3 separate regions of the Homo sapiens genome follow, and regions 2 and 3 are each linked to region 1. Evidence: promoter capture Hi-C in 16 types of primary human blood cells and fetal thymus (Javierre and others, 2016). All regions are on one chromosome and are shown on one strand. Each heading gives the region's core, a stretch centred on a gene start or on the middle of the fragment in contact. The rest is flanking DNA. Distances are from core to core; before and after follow the strand shown. Region 1 holds the start of ROS1 (ROS proto-oncogene 1, receptor tyrosine kinase). Region 2 has its middle 16 kb from the start of SLC35F1. Region 3 has its middle 60 kb from the start of SLC35F1.

Region 1 (2,993 bases), core at 173-2,672:
AGTCACGTCCAACAACATGGATGGAACTGGAGATTATTACGTTAAGTGAATTGAGCTAGGCACAGAAAGGCAAGCATTGCATGTTTTCACTTATTTATGGGATCTAGAAATCAAAACAATTGAATTCATGGACAAAGAGAGTATAAGGATGGTTGCCAGAGGCTGGGAAGGGTGGTGGTGGGTGGGGTGGGGGATGGGAGATGGGGACAGTTAATGGGTACAAAAAATGTAGAAAGAATAAATAAGACCTACTATTTGATAGCACAACAGGGTGACTACAGTCAATAATAACTGTACATATTAAAATGACTTAGAACATACTTGGATTGTTTGCAACTCAGTGGATAAATGCTTGAGGGGATGGACACCCCATTCTTCATGATGTGCTCATTTCACATGGCATGTCTGTTTCAAAACATCTCCTGTACCCCATAAATACATACACCTACTATGTACCCACAAAAATTAAAAAACAAACAAACAAAAATCCAATCAAAAGACGTTCAGCTCAAAACAAAACCTCATGCATGTGTTACTCATAGGGAGAACCTTATATCATTAAGAAAAGGTTAAGTTACATTTAGTATAATTTATTTAAGAAAACAAGGAGGTTGGCCTGTTGTACCGCGGTGGCTCACGCCTGTAATCCTAGCACTTTTGGAGGCCGAGGTGGGCGGATCACGAGGTCAAGAGATCGAGACCACTCTGGGCAACATGGTGAAACCCCATCTCTACTAAAAATACAAAAATTAGCTGGGCATGGTGGCGGGCGTCTGTAGTCTCAGCTACTCGGGAGGCTGAGGCAGGAGAATCGCTTGAACCTGGGAGGCGGAGGTTGCAGTGAGCTGGGATCATGCCACTGCACTGTAGCCTGGGCGACAGACAGAAATTCAGTCTCAAAGAAAGAGAGAGAGAGAGAGAGAGGAAGGAAGGCAGGCAGGAAGGAAGCTTGTACAATGTTTCCTTCTCAAAGCAGACACTTGAACATATCTTAGGTTTCTGGTAACTAGTTTCAGCTGTCTCGATAGACCTGATAAGTCAGTATTTTAGTTAATATGTAGTAAAGTTCTGAGAGTACTCTAACCAACTTCCTTGTTTTTAACTCTCTCCCAGGGTATTTGTCTATTAATTTCAGCTTTGTTTGCTCTTAAATTTAAAAATATGTATTTGGCTTCTGAGTTCTGTTTTCTCTCTCAGTTGCATTGCTTGATTTGGGTGCCTCTATTTTTCCAATAATTCTTTATTATAATAGTGCTACTGTTTGCTAAAGCATACGTGGTCAAAACCCAATTCCCTGCAGAGCTGAAAAGAGCTCAGAGAAGTAAGGTGGTGGACGACCCACTGAAATGTTCCAGTTTCAGACTGCATGTGTCACACCCTTGCTGAAATACAATTCGTTTTCTTTAATTTCCATGTGAAGTGCACTTCTAAGAACTAACCTTTAGTCACTGGGTGACTTTATGGGAGTAAAAGGAAGCTGTTATGAAATAGCTCTTATGGAACTGTTACAAGCTTTCAAGCATTCAAAGGTCTAAATGAAAAAGGCTAAGTATTATTTCAAAAGGCAAGTATATCCTAATATAGCAAAACAAACAAAGCAAAATCCATCAGCTACTCCTCCAATTGAAGTGATGAAGCCCAAATAATTCATATAGCAAAATGGAGAAAATTAGACCGGCCATCTAAAAATCTGCCATTGGTGAAGTGATGAAGAACATTTACTGTCTTATTCCGAAGCTTGTCAATTTTGCAACTCTTGGCTGCCTATGGATTTCTGTGGTGCAGTGTACAGTTTTAAATAGCTGCCTAAAGTCGTGTGTAACTAATCTGGTAAGTCTCACAATCTAATATTTGTCTTTGCAGGAACTAGAACATGTAGCATTCAGCTTGTTATAACTGATAGAATTGTTTTCTCTTTATGAGGAGTTTTCTTATGAGAAGTGGTGGCAACAAGGCAAGATAGATTATTTTTTCTTAAATAAGTTAGGAGCCCTTATAATTGCAGAAGATAAAGCAGGCTATTTTATTTCTTTAGGGTATGTGGTCATATATTTTTTGGGCTAGAGGACTGGGTAAAGGAGGTTTAAATGGAATCAATTTTGCCAATTTTGCACACTTAAAAACTTTCTATTTAAACTTATTTATTACAAAGTCATTAGTAGTTGTCTTGAAACCTGAAATCGGTTTGGCCACAGGATAATGCCTGCTAATTCCAGCTGTGTAGGGAGCTGGATGAAAAAGGAAGCAGATACAGTTGCCATGTAAAATAATATTTTAAAGCAATAATTATTTGTACATTTCTTTATTTCTGTTTGTGCATTTATTATTTTAGTTAGTGAGTTTTTTATATGGAAATTCATGCTTTCATTCTCATTTCTGGGTGTCATCCCTTCTCTAACTATTGTACCATCTCTTTTCAGTTGTAATTTAGTTGTGCTTAAAACAGTCACTGAATTAACTTTAAAAACCAAGTACTCTATAGACAGAGAAAATGCACTCTTCCTGTCTAAAGACAAATAAAATATCATGATAGTTTGCATATGACCCTATCTATAGCCATACTTTTAAACATAATGCAAGTACTAAATATAGTATTCATTATATTATTCTAAAGTATTGGAGATAGAATTATGTGGCAGATTAAAAAGAAACTTGCACTTATACACTTTTGATTTAAACTGTAGTTTAAAACACTACTTAGGTTTACCATGGTTAGTAGCATTTTTTTAAAAGTTTAGTATTTTATATAAATCTTTGCCGAAGACTTCATTGCCTTTAATATAGAATTGCATGCTTTAGTTTTTTATATTTGTAACCCAAACTTAAAAATGGAAGAATGGAACTACTAAATGTTTCAACTACTGAATGGAAAACTAAATGTTCTAAAAAAGATTTTAACTTTTTTCTAATTATAATAAGAGTATACATTTTAAATAAAATATTTATAACATAGAGAACTACAGAAGAATAAAAAACTTCTAATTCTAGCCCTA
Region 2 (2,993 bases), core at 268-2,767, 460 kb before region 1:
CTCCAATCCCTCCAAGGCTAATTTATCACCCAGTGTTTGAATTCCATCTCCACTGGATTGTCTCCTCAACATATGAACATGTTGAAATAACTTCCATCTTTAAAAGTAAAGCAAAACAAAACAAAACCAATACCTCTCTCAATTCCGTGTTCCATCTAAATGCTTGATCAAGGAGTGTTTTATATTCTGTCTATATTTTCTCTCTCACTCTCTCTCTCTCTCTGTGTGTGTGTGTGTGTGTGTGTGTGTGTGTGTGTGTGTGTGTGTGTTTTGAGACAGGGTCTCACTCTGTCACCAAGGCTAGAGTGCAGCGACATGATCACAGCTCACTGCAGCCTTGACCTGCGGGCTCAAGTGATCCTCCCAACTCAGCCTCCCAAGTAGCTGGGACTATAGGCACACATCTCCACACCTGGCTAATTTTTAAATATTTTTTATGGAGATGAGGTTCCCTTGTGTTGCCTAGGCTGGTCTCAAACTTTTGGGTTCAAGAAATCCTCCTGCCTTGGCCTGCCAAAGTCTTCGGATACAGGTATGAGTCACAGCACCAAGCCTATATTTCCATTTTGCTCTATTCACTCTGTAATCTGCTGAAGGACAGCTTTTGCCCCAATACATCACTGAAATGGATTTCATTAAGGTCACCAAAAACTTTCATATCTCTTGCATTTTCCAAAGCCAATTATATTAGAATTCTCCAGAGAAACAGATCCAATAGAATACATACAGAAGAATATAAGAAGAGATTTATTATTGGCTTTATAATTTGATTTATAATTACATTTATAAAGTTATTTACTTGATTATGGAGGCAAAGAAGTTTCATGATCTGCCATCTACAAGCTGGATACCCAGGAAAGCTGGTGGTATAGTTTAGTCTGAGTCCAATGGCATGAGAATCAGGAGAGCAGATGATGGAACTCCCAGTTTGAGGCTGAAGGCCTGAGAATCAGGACCTTGTATGTTCTCACCATTTTGTTTCATTCAGTCCTTCAACAGATTGGATGATGCCCATCCACTTTGGTGAGGATGGATCTTCTTTACAGAGTCTACTGATATAAATATTAACCTCTTACAGAAATCTCTCACAGACACACCCATAAATCACGTTTTACCAGCTATGTGAGCATCCCTTAGCCCAGTAAAGTCAACTCACAAAATTAGCCATCACACCAATTAACTTTTTTTCTGTTCTTATTTTACCTGAATATTCCAGGGAATATTTGATAATGTTGACATTCTTCTCCTGATTGCTCTATTCTTTCTGCTTCTGGAAGAACATCTCCTTTGTTTTCTCCTATCTCCTTGGTTGTCTGTCTCATCTACAGGCTTTCTTCTCTTTCAAATGCCCCTTAACTGTTGGTTTTATCCAGAGCCTCAAACTTGGTCCTCTACTTTCAATGCATGGTCTCTAGGTGATCTTATCCACCTATATGACTTCAGCTGTCACTCGCTACTTCCAATGGCTCTCTCTAATCAACTTTTTAAATTTTTAAAAATCTATTTCTTTTTCTGAACTGTCTGATAATTCTAATCCCTACACTTCCAAACACATATCAGAAACACTATGTCCCAAACTCCTCCCACTCACCTCCTCCTCCTGCTGTGGCACCTGGCATAGTGAATAACATTAATCCCAAATCAGTTGCTCAAACAGAGTGCTGGGAGATGCCCAAACTGTGCCTTCTCAGTTACCCCACAGTCACCATGGCTTAAAGTATTATCTCCTAAAAAAACCCTTCTCATTCACTCCTATCCTATCACATCACTAAGCCTTGTCCAGGTTCTTGTCATGTCTCAGTCTGGTCACTGCAGTGACCTCTGATTTGGGCTCCCACCAAAGTGCTTTGTCAGAAACACAAATCTTACATTGTCACTTTCTTTCTGTTAGTCCTTCAATGGCTCCATCAGCTTACAGGACCAAGTTCAAATTCCATAGCTAAATGGAAGCTCATTCATGATCTGGCCACTTGCCAACCCCTTTCAGCCTCATTTTTCCTATTCCCTAGTGTGCACTTCCTTTGCTCAGAATGCTCAGTTTCCCTACTGTGTAGTGTTGTTTCATGCCTTTGGGCATTCCCACATGTTGCTCATTCTACATATCTCTCCCTCCTTTCCTGATTCAGCTGACATCTATTAGTTGTTTTTAAAAAACCACCTCAGGAATCACCTCCTCCAGGAAGTTTTTCTTGACACCATAGCCTAATTAGATGCCCTTAGCAGTGTAACCACAGCCTTCTCTAAGTGCACCAAACATAACATCAATTTTTCTATGTATTTATCTGAAGGCTATAAGCTCCTTTAGCTAAAGTACCTTGTCTCATGCAGCTTCTTTCCCAGCACTTAGTACGGTACATGGCATGCAATAAGTATCTGTCAAATAACTGACTGACAATGAAGAAACTGACTTAGGGAATTGTCCTACACATTTTCAAAATCAGATAATGTAAAAAAAAAAAAAAAAAAAAGTTGGAACCAGGCCTTATATACTAGACTTCATTTAAGGTTGGAAATAAAAAGCTAAAAGGAGAGGAAATGTCTCCTGAAGAAATATATTGCCTATTCAAGCCAGAATACACTTTTAAAATAGGCCAAGAGATTTCTAGAAAGCAATGCAGTTAACTTTTTATTTAAACAGAAACTGTTCTTTGCTGTCTTGCCTGTTTTTCTAGACATAAGTAAATGACTCATTCATATACAGAGGCTTATTGAAAATGTATTGTATTCAGAGGTTCTTTCTATTTCTCTTATTGTTTGACCTTGATAGTAAATAGCTATGTGATATTTGTAATGCAGCTAACCACACAAAGTGAAAAGGAGAGTTAGCCAATTACTTGGTGAAGGAAATCAGCATAAATAGGCTTCATAATTCAAGCCAAAAAAAGTCTTCATTTTTAAATAAAGCATGGTATTTTAGACTGCATTATTTGAATAAATTAACTCTTTAGTGGCAGAGGTGAAAGTAATTTCAAAAATTCATTGTGTTTTAGCTT
Region 3 (2,993 bases), core at 252-2,751, 420 kb before region 1:
GTATACCATTAAATCTTTCTTCTTTATTCAGCTTGCCACTCTGTGCCTTTTAAGTTGGGCACTTAGCTCATTTACATTTAAAATTAAGTATTGATACATGTGGGTCTGATTGTGTCATTGTATTATTGGCTGGTTATCATACAGACTTGTTTGTGTGGTTGCTTCATAGTGTCATTGGTTTGTGTACTTAAGTATGTTTTTGTAGTGGTTGGTAATTGTCTTTTCTTTCCATATTTAGAGCTTCTTTGAGGACCTCTTATAAGGCAGGTCTAGTGGTAACAAATTCCCTTAGCATTAGCTTTTCTGAAAAGGATCTTGTTTCTCCTTCACTTATGAAGCTTAGTTTGGCTGGATATAAAATTCATAGTTGGAATAGTTTTTTTTAAGAATGCTGAATGTAGTTCCCTCCTTAATCCCTTCCAGCTTGTAAGGTTTCTGCTGAAACATCCACTATTAGCCTGATGGGTTTCCCATTTTAGGTGAACTTCCCCTTCTTTCTAGCTGCCTTTAACATTTTTTTCTCTCATTTTGATCTTGGAAATTCTTATGATTATGTGTCTTGAGGATGGTCTTCTTTTGTACCCTGCAGGGGTTATTTGTATTTCCCGGATTTGAATGTTGGCCTCTGTAGTGATGTTGGGGAAGTTTTCATGGGTGATATCCTGAAATATGTTTTCCTAGTTGTTTGCTTTCTCCCTCGCTTTCAGGGATGTCAATGATTTGTAGATTTGGCGTCTTTACATAATTCTATATTTTTAAGAAATTTTGTTCATTCTTTTTTATTCTTTTTCCTTAATTTTTTTCTGAGTTATTTCAGAGAGCCAGTCTTCTAGCTCTGAGATTCTTACCTCAGCTGGGTCTATTCTGCTGTTAATACTTGTGATTTCATTATGCAGTTCTTATAGTGTGTTTTTCAGCTCTATCATATCAGCTTGGTTCTTTTTTATAACAGCTATTTCATATACTGACTCCTGTATTAATTTATTGTGATTCTTAGTTTCCTTGGATTGGGTTTCAACATTCTCCTGAATCTTGATGACCTTCATTCCTACCCATATTCTAAATTCTATTTCTGTCATTTTAGCCCATTTAAGAACCCATGCTGGGGAACCAGTGTGGTTGTTTGGAGGAAAGAAGGCACTCTGGCTTTTTAAGTTGCCAGAGTTCTTGTGCTGATTGATTCTCATTTGTGTGGGCTGATGTTTCTTCAATCTTTGAAGTTGCTGTCCTTTGGATGGTTGTTTTTCCTCTTTTTTCTTCTTTGATGCCCCTTGGGGGTTTGCTTATGGTATAAGGTGGATTCAGTTGACTGGCTTCAATTCTAGTCTATGCCCGAGTCTAAGAGGAACCCTCTCTGATTATTGTCTCTGTGCCTGCATTTCTTTTGTTTGGCGTTCTGGTCCACAGGGCTCTCTCAGGCAGGGGCCACAATTGGCAGACAAGATGTATCCTTACCAGGTCAGTCCTAATCTGCTGTCTGTGTGCTTCCTGAGAAAACATGGGGTTGTGCTTGTCTGCAGAGCTCAGGCAAAAGCAGGACTGCTTGGTTGGAAGCTCTAGCTGGTGTAGGCTGTCAGGCTACAGGAAGTGGGGTGGATGAGTTGCCCACCCTGCTGTCTGGGTGTTTCCAGGGCAACAAGAGGCTGTGCCCCTTGGCAAATTCAGGCAGAACTACAACCACTGAACCAGAAGCTCTAGCAGACATGGCTAGCCTGGCTACCAGTGGCAGGGGTGGGTGGGGACTCCTGTCCTGACATATGGATGCTTTCTGGGACAACAGGAGGTTGTACCCCTCAGCTGAGTTTCCACAGAAGCAGGACCACTGGGCCTGAAGCTCTATCAGGGGTTGCCTGCCTCGTTACCAGTGGCCGGTGTGGACAAGGTCATGTACTCTGCTGTCCATGTGTTTCCCAAGAACAGGAAGCTGTGTCCTCTAGCTGAGTTCACACAGAAGTGGGGCTGCTGGCCCAGAAGCTCTATAAGGCATTGCCTACCTAGCTATCGGTTGCAGGGGTGGGTGGGGTCATGCATCCTGCCATCTGGGTGTTGCCAGGGACAACAGGAGACTGCATCCTTCGGCTGAGTCCCCACAGAAGCAGGACCACTGGGCCAGAAACTCTAGCAGGCACTGTCCACCTGGCTATCAGTGGTGGGGGTGAGTGGGGTTGCCTTCCCTGCCATCCAGGTTCTTCTTGGGACAACAGGAGCCTACACTCACCAGCTGACTTTCCACAATAGCAGGATGACAGGGCCTGAAGCTCTGGCAGGCATTGCCCACCTGGCTACCAGTGGCAGGATTGGGTGGAGTCATGTGCTCCATCATCTAGGTGTTTCCTGAGACAATAGGAAGCTGCACCCTCTAGCTGAGTTCGCACAGAAGCAGGAGCACTGGGCCAGAAGCTCTAGCAAGCACTGCCTTCCTGGTTATTGGTGGTGGGCTTGAATGCGGCCTCATGCTCTGACATCCAGGCATTTCCCAGGACATCAGGAGGCTCTGCCCTCCAGTTGAGTTCACACGAAAGTGGGACTGCTGGGCTGGAAGCTGGTGCCCAGCCCCATCTGGCAAGGGAGAGTGGAGCAATCTCTCTGCTCCTAGGCAGTACAGCTGTGGCCTCTACTGGGGCTATGGCACCAGGGCTGATCTGCTCCAGAGCTCAAAGCTTATAGAGGTCCCCTTGGACTTGAGAGTTGTCCCCCACAAAATGTCCAAGTGGCTATCTGTCTCAGTCTAGAAGCATGATTGGGGAGTGCAGAGGGGCCGGCAAGATTCTACCATTTCCAATCTTGCACAGGTCCCTGTAGAGAGTGTGAATCCTTCTGGGGGTTCTCACTGACTTATCCTTTCCCATGTTGGAGAGGTTCTCCTGACTCCATGCGGAGCCCAGGCAGGCTGGTGCCCAGCTTTGCTCCTCTCTGCTCTCTGTGTTCCCCTGCTGCCTTGATGGATCCTGACATAGTTTCTTAGATGATCAGCCTGCAGGGTGAGTGTTCAC

What was found. The method cuts DNA at HindIII sites, captures the fragments that hold promoters and counts their contacts. A CHiCAGO score of 5 or more calls a contact.
Region 2: a contact is called between a fragment that was not itself captured here and the fragment with the promoter of ROS1 in region 1, in 1 of 17 cell types (erythroblasts). The highest score is 6.9, in erythroblasts.
Region 3: a fragment that was not itself captured here is called in contact with the fragment with the promoter of ROS1 in region 1 in 1 of 17 cell types (erythroblasts); the score reaches 5.7 in erythroblasts.

Annotation. Positions count from the first base shown.
Region 1 is chr6:117,424,371-117,427,363 of GRCh38, reverse strand. It overlaps ROS1 (ROS proto-oncogene 1, receptor tyrosine kinase), which reads left to right and starts at 1,422. Exons shown (of 44, transcript NM_001378902.1): 1 at 1,422-1,830. The coding sequence starts at 1,708. The HindIII fragment of the contact is 564 bases long and covers 951-1,514 here.
Region 2 is chr6:117,889,390-117,892,382 of GRCh38, reverse strand. No RefSeq gene overlaps it. Among named protein-coding and RNA genes, the nearest start is that of SLC35F1, 16 kb to the left of the region's middle. The HindIII fragment of the contact is 5,056 bases long and covers 1-2,993 here.
Region 3 is chr6:117,845,444-117,848,436 of GRCh38, reverse strand. No RefSeq gene overlaps it. Among named protein-coding and RNA genes, the nearest start is that of SLC35F1, 60 kb to the left of the region's middle. The HindIII fragment of the contact is 2,322 bases long and covers 341-2,662 here.